Linked DNA regions of Homo sapiens: region 1 is linked to region 2. The links are contacts of gene promoters, found by promoter capture Hi-C in human tissues and cell types (Jung and others, 2019). All regions are on one chromosome and are shown on one strand. Each heading gives the region's core, a stretch centred on a gene start or on the middle of the fragment in contact. The rest is flanking DNA. Distances are from core to core; before and after follow the strand shown. Region 1 overlaps RYR3 (ryanodine receptor 3). Region 2 holds the start of RYR3 (ryanodine receptor 3).

What was found. Contacts are between HindIII fragments. The study calls those that stand out against the background at their distance.
Region 1: a fragment that was not itself captured here is called in contact with the fragment with the promoter of RYR3 in region 2 in 4 of the 25 tissues and cell types used here (dorsolateral prefrontal cortex, hippocampus, pancreas and 1 more).

What each region holds. Positions count from the first base shown.
Region 1 is chr15:33,351,372-33,357,715 of GRCh38, reverse strand. All of the region lies in intron 1 of RYR3 (ryanodine receptor 3), which reads right to left. Among named protein-coding and RNA genes, the nearest start is that of RYR3, 44 kb to the right of the region's middle. The HindIII fragment of the contact is 6,688 bases long and covers 1-5,207 here.
Region 2 is chr15:33,307,465-33,313,331 of GRCh38, reverse strand. It overlaps RYR3 (ryanodine receptor 3), which reads right to left and starts at 2,365. Exons shown (of 104, transcript NM_001036.6): 1 at 2,236-2,365. The coding sequence starts at 2,286. It overlaps RYR3-DT (RYR3 divergent transcript), which reads left to right and starts at 2,673. Exons shown (of 3, transcript NR_120327.1): 1 at 2,673-2,754. RefSeq lists enhancers at 1,123-1,632, 1,633-2,144. The HindIII fragment of the contact is 9,811 bases long and covers 1-5,867 here.

The DNA.
Region 1 (6,344 bases), core at 614-3,113, 45 kb before region 2:
GTGGAGTTTTCTTTTTTTAAGTGAAAGCAAGTTTATTAAGAAAGTAAAGGAATAAAGAATGGCTACTCCATAGGCAGAGCAATCAAACTCTAAATTTTCTATGATATCAATAGATTATTGCCTGTTTTAAGCAGGCACTATAAAATAACCTGCAAGACAAAAATGCAGGAAGTTGGAAAATCTGGATGTGTTAGCTGGAGAACAGGGTTCTGATTTTAAAATTTGAAGGTTTTGAATGCCAGAAAAATTCTAAAATGTAAGAGGGTATTGACAGGTGAGGGTGACAAAGGGTGACCCTTGTGTCACTAGAGAGGAGAGTGATACCCAGGTTGTGCCCTCACCTACCGGGACTCACCTTTTCTCTTGTCCAATGTGGAAATTAAGTTTTCCAAAACAAGTAAATTCATAAAGGACAGGATTGCTGTTTTTGTTTGTTTTATTAAGAAAATCTTTCTTGATCCATTCAAGACCAGATCTGAAGTTATTTTAAAGAAACCCAGCAGTGTCCACATAATTCAGGTCTGATAAGTGGCAGAAGTAGGGCTGGGCCCTCCTTCAAAATTTTTAGACTTCTGTTTGCTGCAAACACCACATATGTCCAGGACCAGGCCACGTGGTAGGAAAGCAAAGTCAGAGGTGGCATACAGGCAGGGAAAGCAGGTGAGATAGACAAGTGAAGGATGGGACACGACACCTTCCACTTCCTAAAGACCCTTCCAAGAGAACAGAGCATGAGTCACCAGCCATAAGGAATCACTCCTTTCCAAAGAAGCATCCAGGATACATTACCTAGTAATAAATGGTATTGCTCAACTATGGCCCCCGAAGGCCTATTTTTCCATATTATAATTATTACTACCTGTGATTTACTGGATTCTTACTATATGCCACATTAGAGGAGAGTTAAATGCTACATTAGTTCTCAGAGAGCAAACCTCAATCTTACCTTACTAAATGGCACACACAGAAAAAATCTACAGATGAGGGAACAGAGAGTATCTACTTATAATTTGCAAGTATCTACTTATACTTACACTTACTCCTTACTACTTACCTCTCTCATTTAATCCTCAAAATAAACATATTATGTGTCTATAATCATTCTCATTTTACTAAGGGAGAAAGTAAAATTCAGAGAGATTATACATAATTTTGTTTATTTTGATATGTTCTTAATTATCATTATTTCTTAGATCTGTGCCACTATGTCCATAGAGAAAAGTCCACAAATTCAAATTCAGACTTCTAAGCCTACCTGCAAAGTGGCAGACTGTAACCAGAGGGCCACTTTCATGTGGATCACCCTCACCTACTCTTATTTTTCTCACTTGTTTATGATGGAAACAAAAATAACACTAACGACTGAAATTTAGACACAGCATATCACAAAGCACACCAGCATACTTCATTGCAGCCTTGTGACAATGCTGTGAGGTAGAAATGACAGTTATTCTGCTTTAAGAGAAAAGGGATCTTAGGTTTAGTTGAGGTTATAAAGATTGCCAGAGGTATCTAGTAAGAGTCAGACATAAGACTAACACGGACCTTCTCACTCCAAAATTCCTTTCCAAATAACCATGCTGCTCCTTCACTTAGATTCATGGAACCTCATCGTATGCATGATTCACAAATCTATACTCACAGTTCTTATCTATCTCTGAAACTGAGAACCCCCCGCCATCCATCTGCAGGAAATCTCCACCTGAATGTCCTACAGCTGAAGGTCTCACTCTTCTGTTTCTCTCACAGTATCTACTACAGGGTTCTATATGAAGCAGGCACTTAACAAGTTTTGAATAGACAAATGACATATTTCAAAGGAAAAAGGAGAAAGAAGCCAATAACTGAGCTGAATTGTGTGGCGGGAACCTAGGGAGTATAGGGATCAGACAGATACTAAGTTCTCATCCTCTCCACCCAAGATGAATATCATTGGCACCGGTTATACCTAGCTAGGGGATCAGGGATGAGAAGCAGCCATCTTCTTCTGGTGGCCCAAGTGACAAAGGGCCTCCATATAGTCAGCTACAATGGAAGCAACACCAGCCTGGAAGGTTTTAGACACTCTTGATGACTAGATTAAAGGCTCTTTAAAATTACCTAAGAAAATATGGCAGAAGAGAAGCCTAAAGATTAAATCGTGGCTTTGATTGTCTTATGACTTCCACAGCATTTGCGAACCTATCTCTGATGCTTATTAGCGATGTCAGCTTTCACAAACACCTTAAAGTTTTTCAACCTCAGTTTCCTTACATGTACAGTAGGAAAAATAACATACATCTCATAGGGTTGCTGGGAAGGCTGCTATGTGATGCTATAGGTACCATATGATGCTAAATAAATATTAATTACCATAAGCACGAGTCTTATTCTCCTGGCCATTAAATAATATAATATGACTGCAAGTTAGAAACCTTCACATTTAAATAGTGAATTCATAATTTTGCCTGATCTCATGCTTTGTGTTTTGGAAAATATAAAGATGACAAGTCTGGCCAAGCCAACTAATACATGATTTTTTTTTTTTTTTTTTGAGGGAGTTTCACTCTTGTCCCTCAGGCTGGAGTGCAATGGCACGATCTCAGCTCACTGCAACCTCCGCCCCCCAGGTTCAAGCGATTCTCCTGTCTTAGCCTCCTGAGTAGCAGGGATTACAGGCGTGTACCACCACGCCCGGCTAATTTTTGTATTTTTAGTAGAGACGGGGTTTCACCATGTTGGCCAGGCTGGTCTCAATCTCCTGACCTCAAGTGATCTGCCCGCCTCGGCCTCCCAAAGGGCTAGCATTACAGGCATGAGGCCACTGCACTCGGCCCCAACTAATACATGATCTTGGTTGTAGGAATAATTCATGATGAATGCTGCCGAAAGGTGGTTTTCAACTGATCCTGTCAGAGACAGGCCAATAAAGTCCAACTACTTTACTTGTGAATTGCTAAGGAAATTGAGCATCACGGAAAATAGTAAGCTTCCAGATCAACCTTGATAAACCACCTCCTGAAAGAAAGATGTACTTATTTTATAAAGAGTATATGTGAGAGTTAGTGAGAAACTACTCCCACACCACAACTTCCCACCAAGCACAGAAAGCTGATTAAATCAATTCCAGGGCAGGCTTGCAAAGAAGATGAAAGGCTTGGCATTCTTGAATAATAACAAGTCAAGAGCTGCATTATGAAGTGATACTTGACACTTAGCAGTTTTTCTTTTTTGTAAAGATGCTCTCATTTACAGGATTTTGAAATGACTTTGAGCATTTCCCCATGGGTAGGTTCAAGGCTTCATAGGTGACATTAGTCAAAATGTTTGCACTTGTGTGTGCAGTTTGCAGAAAGAAAGCAAACAAGAGGCAATGCTCTACCAGAAGTGAGGGAGGGCAGACCAGATTCCAATGTGAGAAATAAAGCTGGGTGGATAGGAACACTAAGAAATGGGCATCTTACTACATGGTTCTTTCACAGTGGTTTCTTGGTAGATGCTGCAGAGAGGCTGAATTTAACAGCTGTAGGTTGACTGCCTCTCAAAGGAATTCTCATAGATGCCACCTGTATCTGAGAAAATGGGATGTTAAACATTTATGTTGGGCAGTAACAATAAGTACTCACCAAATTTTGCATTTTCCAACTTCTTTTGCTGTAGAACCCAAACCACTTGTCAAAGAATCAAAAGAGTGACCCTAAGAGGTCATGTCAAGCTTTCCTTTGATTCTGGGCAGCCGTCAGATAAATCAATGTCCAATCTGCTCTTCAAGGATCTTTCAAAAGGCTGGAGTCACAGTTTTCCATTCCCCAGAGTTAAAACATGATTTATTTTATGGAAACTAAATTTCTCCTACCATAAAGAATTTTCTTTCACATAGGTGTTACAAAGGATGGGATGTGTTATTCTTATATAGGATGCCTTCTTCTGCAATATCTGCCCTAGACCTACCTGAAAAAAAAATCACCATTAGACTGTCTGTTAATTGAGGGAAAACTGCTCCGCAGGAGTATTTCACAGAATCACAGCAACAAAGAACTTTAGAGGTAGGGAAAAGAAACTTCATGATCTGTGGATTCAACCCCTGATTTTAAAGTGTAGGTGTTCCTCCACTAGGGCAACCATCCATTCCAGATGGGGTTTCTAGGATGTGGGACTTTCAGTGGTAAAATCAAGACAGTCTTGGGCAAACCAGTATGGTTAGTTGTCATATTTTCCACTCAGATTCAATCTAACAGCAAATCTGGTTAGCTTTACCTCCCAAATAAGCTTCAAATCTGATGCCTTCTCCCCAACTCCACTGCCACCAGATGGTCCAAGATATTTTGTAGCTTTGCCTATTGTGATCACTCCCTAACATGTTTCTCTGCTTTTGCTCCTGCCCAACTAAAATCCCTTTTATGCGCACCTTCAAGGGTGACCTCTCCAGAAAAAGCAAAAAAGTTATCAAATCACATCAGTATTCTCCTTAAAATTCTTCAGTTACTTTCCTTGGCATATAGAATAACAGAAATATCTTACCAAGGCAAAAATCGGACTTGGCTGTATATTACTATCTTCCCCACAGTTGACTTAGGCTGTTCTAATTTAAATTCAAGCTAAATATAAAAAATGCACTCATATACCTTAGAGAAGAGGAATGAAGAAGATGAAACAACACTAGAACTGCTGCTCTAAACCTTTCTACTTTATCTAATAAATGTCAGAGAAGGTTTCATAGAGTAGGTGCTCCATTTTGGGGGGCACTTTCAAAAGGAGAGCTCATGTTAGGTCCGGGGTAGATTTCCAAGTGCATAGTAAATATAACATATTAAAAGAAGAGCAAACAGGTCCCCATCGTCCTCGTGTGTTAAGTGAAATATTTGGAACTGCTTGAACCTACTTCCTAGAAATCATCCAGTTACAGCTTTAACCTTAGCTCTCTAAATGACCACCATGAGTAAACAGAAGTGGGCATAGGTATCTGTTTTAAAAGCTATTTGTAGTAGTCAACCTTGAAACTCAGTAAGAGTAATCAAATACTTTCCCAGTAAAACTTTTGCTTGTGAATAATATTCTATGCATTGTTAGCTTAAAGAGTATCAGACCCAAAGTAACTGCAGCACAGAGAAATACCACTGTCTTTTTAAAGCCACGCAGCTGATAATGAGCAGAGACAAAACGAAGCACCAAGTCTCCTAGGATTTTGTGCACCTCCTCATTGCTTCTATCTCGTTAAGTCAACAAGGGCAGACTCCAGAGTGTGGTGGGCTTGGCTCAGCAGTGGGAATCTAGACCAGTGGTTATCAATATAGAAAGGGGAAGAAGAAAGCACTGACTGTATCAAAATAATTGATCTCACCTAGCACCAGAAGAATTCAACCCTAATTCTCAGAGCTATTCTCTGAGAGTAAAGAAAATGGCCATAAAATTTAAAAACACATGAAAGACACTGGTAAGAGGATGAGAAGATAAGCCACAGAAAGGGGAAAATATTTGCAAAACACATATCTGATAAAGGAACTGTAACTAAGGCCCATCTATGTAAGGATTTGATAAAGACTGAAAATATTTTTTTAAAACTCAACAATTTAAAAAAAATGATTTAAAAACGGGCAAAAGATCTGAACAGTCACTTCACTAAAGAAGGTACACAAGAATGCTTGTGATTTTTGTGCATTGATTTTGTATCCTGAGACTTTGCTGAAGTTGCTTATTAGCTTAAGGAGATTTTGGGCTGAGACAATGGGGTTTTCTAGATATACAATCATGTCATCTGCAAACAGGGACAATTTGACTTCTTTTTCCTAATTGAATACCCTTTATTTCCTTCTCCTGCCTAATCGCCCTGGCCAGAACTTCCAACACTATGTTGAATAGGAGTGGTGAGAGAGGGCATCCCTGTCTTGTGCCAGTTTTCAAAGGGAATGCTTCCAGTTTTTGCCCATTCAGTATGATATTGGCTGTGGGTTTGTCATAGATAGCTGTTATTATTTTGAGATACATCCCATCAATACCTAATTTATTGAGAGTTTTTAGCATGAAGGGTTGTTGAATTTTGTCAAAGGCCTTTTCTGCATCTATTGAGATAATCATGTGGTTTTTGTCTTTGGTTCTGTTTATATGCTGGATTACATTTATTGATTTGCATATATTGAACCAGTCTTGCATCCCAGGGATGAAGCCCACTTGATCATGGTGGATAAGCTTTTTGATGTGCTGCTGGATTCGGTTTGCCAGTATTTTATTGAGGATTTTTGCATCAATGTTCATCAAGGATATTGGTCTAAAATTCTCTTTTTTGGTTGTGTCTCTGCCCGGCTTTGGTATCAGGATGATGCTGGCCTCATAAAATGAGTTAGGGAGGATTCCCTCTTTTCTATTGA
Region 2 (5,867 bases), core at 1,116-3,615:
GGCTCTAGCGGGAATGTAATTGAACATTGTATAATGAAAATTACCAATAACTTGTCAACAGCTATGTTCAAGTCACTCGATTTCCTGTGCTTCAGTTTCATCACCTATTTCCTTCCCAGTGAGCTAAAAACAAAGATGTTAAGGTGCCTCATAGGGTGAAGAAATGAGGAACACACCTTAAAAAATACATAAGGTGATAACTAGAAGGAAAAGAACCAATAACGCCACATTTGGAGTCACTGCCCCCATGGTTACCACCATCACTCGCTCTAAGCCATAACCGGTATGCAGTTCTCTGCAACAGGGGCTCTGAACCTGGGTCCTTGAACCCCACAGGCTGTCATGGGTGTACTTTAAAAGAGGTCTGCCAGCTCTGATCTCTAGGGCAGGAAGCCCAGGACACAAAACTTAAGAACCACTACTATAGTAAACCTTGGCTACAGGTGTACCAAAAACAAACAAAAACAAAAAACACTTACAATGCCAGATGGAGAGGAAAAGTCAGGGAAGATGGCTCAGAAGCCAAGAGAAAAGCATAAGGATCTCACAACAACTACCACCTTCCTAAGCCTCAACTCCCTGGGACATCTATTCAACACTGACCCTGTCTGAAGATAATTTTTTCAAGCAATAACGCCTAGAAGATCATTAATAATAAGGAGAAGAAATGACTGATCATGGAGGACACAAGGCAGAAAAAACCTGAGCTGCCACCCATCCACTACTAAAGACACCTGTCAGAGGGACAACCAAAGGATTTGATGGAGCTTTGAGGGGAGCAGGCAGCTTTATAACAATAGGGTTGTCATGAGTTGCAACTGTGGGGCCATCTTGTGTGCAGTGTGAGAGATGAGAATGGAGTCTGGGTCTGCAGGTCAGACGAAGGATGAAGAGATGAATACTCTAGCCTCTCAGTAGTACCAGCAGGGCGATAGGTACTTCCATACCCCCCCCAAATAAGACCCAAGTCCCAGCTTTGACAAAAGAACCATGTTTGGAAGAGAAACTGAAGTAAATTGGAAGGAAGCGCTTCAACAGGAGGAGAGTGGTTCAAAAGATGGACAAGAGGTAAGTTGTGATCTTCGAAGACCAGGTCATGGAGAAGGGGGCACCCTTAAAGGGAAGTGAGAGAGGGAAAGAAAGAATTTCATTCTAATTCCTGAGAGCAAGGCAGCGCATATAAAATTACCTAAGATTTACAGAGCGATTTGCCGTTTACAAAACATTATGACATTCACGATAACGTTTAATCCTTATCACCCTGAAACGCTGGTTACATTTTATTTTACACATGAGGAAACTGAGGCTGAGTAGGGCGGATTATGCGACTTGCTCAAGGTCACTTGGCTGAAGTCAGCGCTAGGATGCATCCCCAATGCCCCCACCCCTCCGGGTGGCCGTCCACCCTGAAAGTCTTTGTATTATCTCCTACAGGGCAAGGCTGGTGTGGCTGCAACAGACTTCGCCCCCTCACCCCCAAATCTGGGACGGAGCAGCGCCCTCAGGTGTCAAGGAGGGGACCTGAGTGACGCGGAGCCACTGACTGGGGTTTCCCTGTCCTGCGGGGCTCGCGGGAGCCAGGAGCAGAAGCCACAGCTCTCGAACACACGACAGGCAGTCAGTCAAGTCAGGCTCCAGCAGCAGTTGCCGGCGTGGGGCTTAACACGAGAGGGGCAGCGCTGGGTGAATTCCCCTCCGAGCGATCCCAGGGCTAGGACCAAGCGCCTGCGCCCGCTTCTCCGACCCGGCTCCCCACACTCCCCCCTGCCCCGCTGGCTCCTTCCCGGAGGTTCCCCTGTGCGTGGGGGCGCCCTGGAAGAGGAATGGGGCTGGGGTGGAGTATGGAGGTGTCAGAGGGCCGACCCCGGGGCGAGGGCTTCCAACGCCGATCTTATGGGTCAGGACAACCGCGAACAAACCCCGGCTGAAGTTTGGGCATCAAGGGTTTCAGACCAAGTAGCAAGTTGCCTGGAGAGCGAGCGGTCCTAGGTGGAGGGCCTGGGGCAGGGGTGGCGGTAGGGGAACAAGGGAGAGGCAGGAGATGGTGCCCCTTCCCACGCAGCCCCTCGCGGCCCCGCGGGTAGGTGGCCGGTCCGCCTCTGCAGCCCGCGGGTGCGGAGAAAGCGCCCGGCACCGGGCACCCGGCACCGCGGCGCAGCGCAGCCAGCCCCTCCTCGCCGCGCTCCGCGCTCCTCCCCACCTGCCCACGGCCTCGCCCCCGCCGCGGAGACTCACAGTCCTCAGAAACTGGATCTCGTCCTCGCCTCCTTCTCCCCCTTCGGCCATGGCTCCCGAGGCGTCGGCGGTGCCCCAGCCTCCGGCGCCTCTGCTTCCCCCGGCAGCCGCTCGGCGTGCGCTGACTGCTGCTGCGCTCTTTCTCCTCCTCCTTTTCGTCCTCGTCCTCCACCTCCTCCTCCAGCTCCTGGCTCAGCCTCAGCCTCAGCAGCGCCAAGCTAATCCCCGACCATATAGGGAGCTGGGCTAACACTCCACTGCACTGCAGAGCGCCAACGCCAACCAAGCAGTCCGCCCACCCCTCTCGCCTCTCGCCCCAGCCAAGTGCGCTGCGGCCGCCCGCTCCGTGGAGAGCGCAACGCTGGGCGCGTCGAGCTGGCGGGGGCGGTGCGGGGGCCCTGGGCTGGCGCGGTGGAGCCTCCCCCGCACCGCTGGGTACCGCACCGCACACTCAGCGGAGGCGCGCGCCCCGCGGCGACCGGAGGATGTCCCCTAAACTGCTCCAATTCACAAACAAAGGCCAGTTGCTTAGCTCCAGCGCGCCCAGACTGGGTACCAACCCTCTCGCTTTGCTCGCTTTGCCCGCTTTGCCCACTTTGCCTGTGTGTGTGTGTGTGTGTGTGTGTGTGTGTGTGTGTGTGTGACAGAGATAGAGAGAGAGAGAGAGGAAAGAGAGAGACAGAGACAGAGAGAGAGAGAGAGGAAAGAGAGAGACAGAGACAGAGAGACAGAGAGAGGAAAGAGAGAGAGACAGAGACAGAGAGAGAGAGAGAGAGAGAGAGAGAGATCTGGACTCGAATACCTTGCTAGGACCCGCGTGCATTGTTGGGCAAGGAGAAGACGGTGCAGTGAGGAGCGAGGGTGATTGTCCACTTACAACAAAGTTTGCAACTCCCTGGATAGTCCTTTCTACACCTTAAGAGAACCCCTTCCCCTCTTCAAAATTGGTAAGTACACTTTACCAAACCCCTGGATTGTCCAGGGTTGCTGTGACTTCTGTACCCCAGGGAGCTTCTGGGGGATCCTGTGCCACCCTCAATTTGGAAGTCAGGTGGCATCACAACCCTTCCTCTCTGCCCACCCCTAACCTTATTCTGCATTTAGAGTTCCAGCCCTGTGGACTCTAAAGGGAGTAGAGAGTAGTTACAGGAGGCTCCCTTCCAGGTCCTGGAAGGCTCCTACATCCCACCCAGCCTTAGGTCCTTTTCCATGGTTGGGGATTGCCAGATTGGTCCTTGCCTTGACTGACGGTGCAGGGTGCCCCCTTCTGTTTGATGGCCGAGAAGCTCCAAGGCAAGAGACTGTTCAAGGCAAAAGGCACCAGAGATGTAGATTTAGGAGGAAGTGCAACTGGGAAGGTGGTAATTCTGGGCTGATGATGGTGGAAGACACTGGAAACCCCAAGCCATTTCACAGCTTCATATACCGCCTCCTTGTGGACGACATCTATCTCTTGATGCTACCTTAAGATCTCTTTCCTGAGCTTCCGTCCCATATGTTCTGATGAACATCAGAAATGCAAAGAAAAATGTTTTTTTCTTGTATTGTACTCAAACTGCTACCTTCTAGGCTTCAGCTTGGGCCTTGTGCCTCTTCTGAAACCCGCCTAGAATAAGTCAAACCATCTGTACATTGTGGCCCTTCACCTCTTAGAAGGCATCTGCCATGCTTGCCTCTATGGCCCACCATCCACTCTTTTCTTCTCCTGGCTCAAGGTTCTTCTTAGCCCCAACTTTCCCTGTAGTATAGTTTCCAGAGCCTATGTCATCTTTGATGGCCATATGAGCATTCCAGGTGGTCTTCTTCCTGAATTGTTGTGCTCTCCGTCCTTGTTTTGGACAGTCTTTATGTGCAGCCTAATATTGGATTGGCTTCTGGAGAAACACTAATGACACTCACTGTGTTTGGAGTTAACTAGAATTTCTAGATTTACTTTTTTCCTCCCACGTGAACTGCAAAAGTCAGCTCTTCTCCATCTTGATCACATGCAAGTGCTTGAGTACCTGTGGGCACGGTGGCTCACGCCTATAATCTCAACACTTTGGGAGGCCAAGGCGGGTGGATCACCTGAGGTCGGCAGTTCGAGACCAGCCTGACCAACATGGAGAAACCCCATTTCTACTAAAAAAAAAAAAAAAATACAAAATTAGCCGGTCGTGGTGGTGCATGCCTGTAATCCCAGCTACTTGGGAGGCTGAGGCAGGAGAATCGCTTGAACCCGGGAGGTGAAGATTGCCGTGAGCCGAGATCATGCCATTGCACTCCAGCCTGGGCAACAAGAGCGAGACTCTGTCTCAAAAATATGTGTGTGTGTGTGTGTGTGTGTGGGTGGGTGTGTGTGTGTTCCTTCCAATTGTAATACCCAATCATGTATTGATGTCTCTATATGTGAACCTTTAAGGTATTTTTAAAGCTAGAGTATGCCAGGCAAGGTGCTAATTATTACTAACCTGTGATATGGCATACCTTCAGAATACTAATAGAGGCCCTCTTGGATTAACTTTCATACTTTTGATTATGCTTAATATGGCATACCTTCAGAATACTAATAGAGGCCCTGTTGGATTAACTTTCATACTTTTGATTATGCTTATTTAATGATCAAGAACTTACCTAAGTCAGAAAAATAATACCTATTGAGTACTATGCTTATTACCTGCGTGACAAAATAATCTGTACACCAAACCTCCATGACATGCAGTTTACTTATGTAACAAACCTACATATGTACCCTTGAACCTAAAATAAAAGTTATAATTAAAAAATAACCTACATAAATATATTATTTTGCAGCCCAAATTTCTTCTTGTTCATAGGGCTACTATAAATGCCTTTCTTACATACTTTACTGAAATACAGATATGTAATCTGGGACACCACCTCCCGCATCAGTCAAATAACCCTACCACAAAAGAAGTAAGAATGGAGTTCTGTAACACCATTGGTGCATCCACTTGGATTCCTGATGGTCTTTGTGTTCCTTTAGAGTTCCCAAAAGTAAGCTGTTTAATTATCAAAATCTAAGATTGTTCTGGAGCTCAGCGTATAAAAGAGTCTCAGGCTGTTGTTTCAGACTGTAAACTGGGGAAGGTGGACATTTACTTCTATTTGAAATCTATTGGTACTTCTTCCATTCTCTAAGATTTCCCAAAGATGCACCAATAATGATGCTGTAGTCATACAGGTACAGATAAATAGTAGTTCAGACACTGTGCTTTGATACTTGTTTTGCTATTAGTTCACCCATTAAGACCGGGAGAGAATAAACTAATAGTAAGTTACTTGTCTAAATTCATACATCTAGTAAAAGGAGTCACACAATCTCCTCTTACTTGGAGTAAAACAATCTCAATACTTTTCAGTACTTTCTCCACTATAGTGCCTTGCTTCTAGAACAGCAAAGTGGAAAACATCAGGTTCATACACCACCTCCATGCCCCCATACCCCATACACATTGGGTTTGCTTCCACACAGCCTATATTTTAAACTGAGTCTCTCTCAAGACCAGTTACTCTTAGTAGAGAGCCGGAGGACTTGGACCTTAGGTCTTAGAGGGTACTGTAGCTACTACATTTTGAAAGAAAAACCCAAAGCCTCCCAGGTTTCTAAACCTCTGGAGAAAGCTATCAGC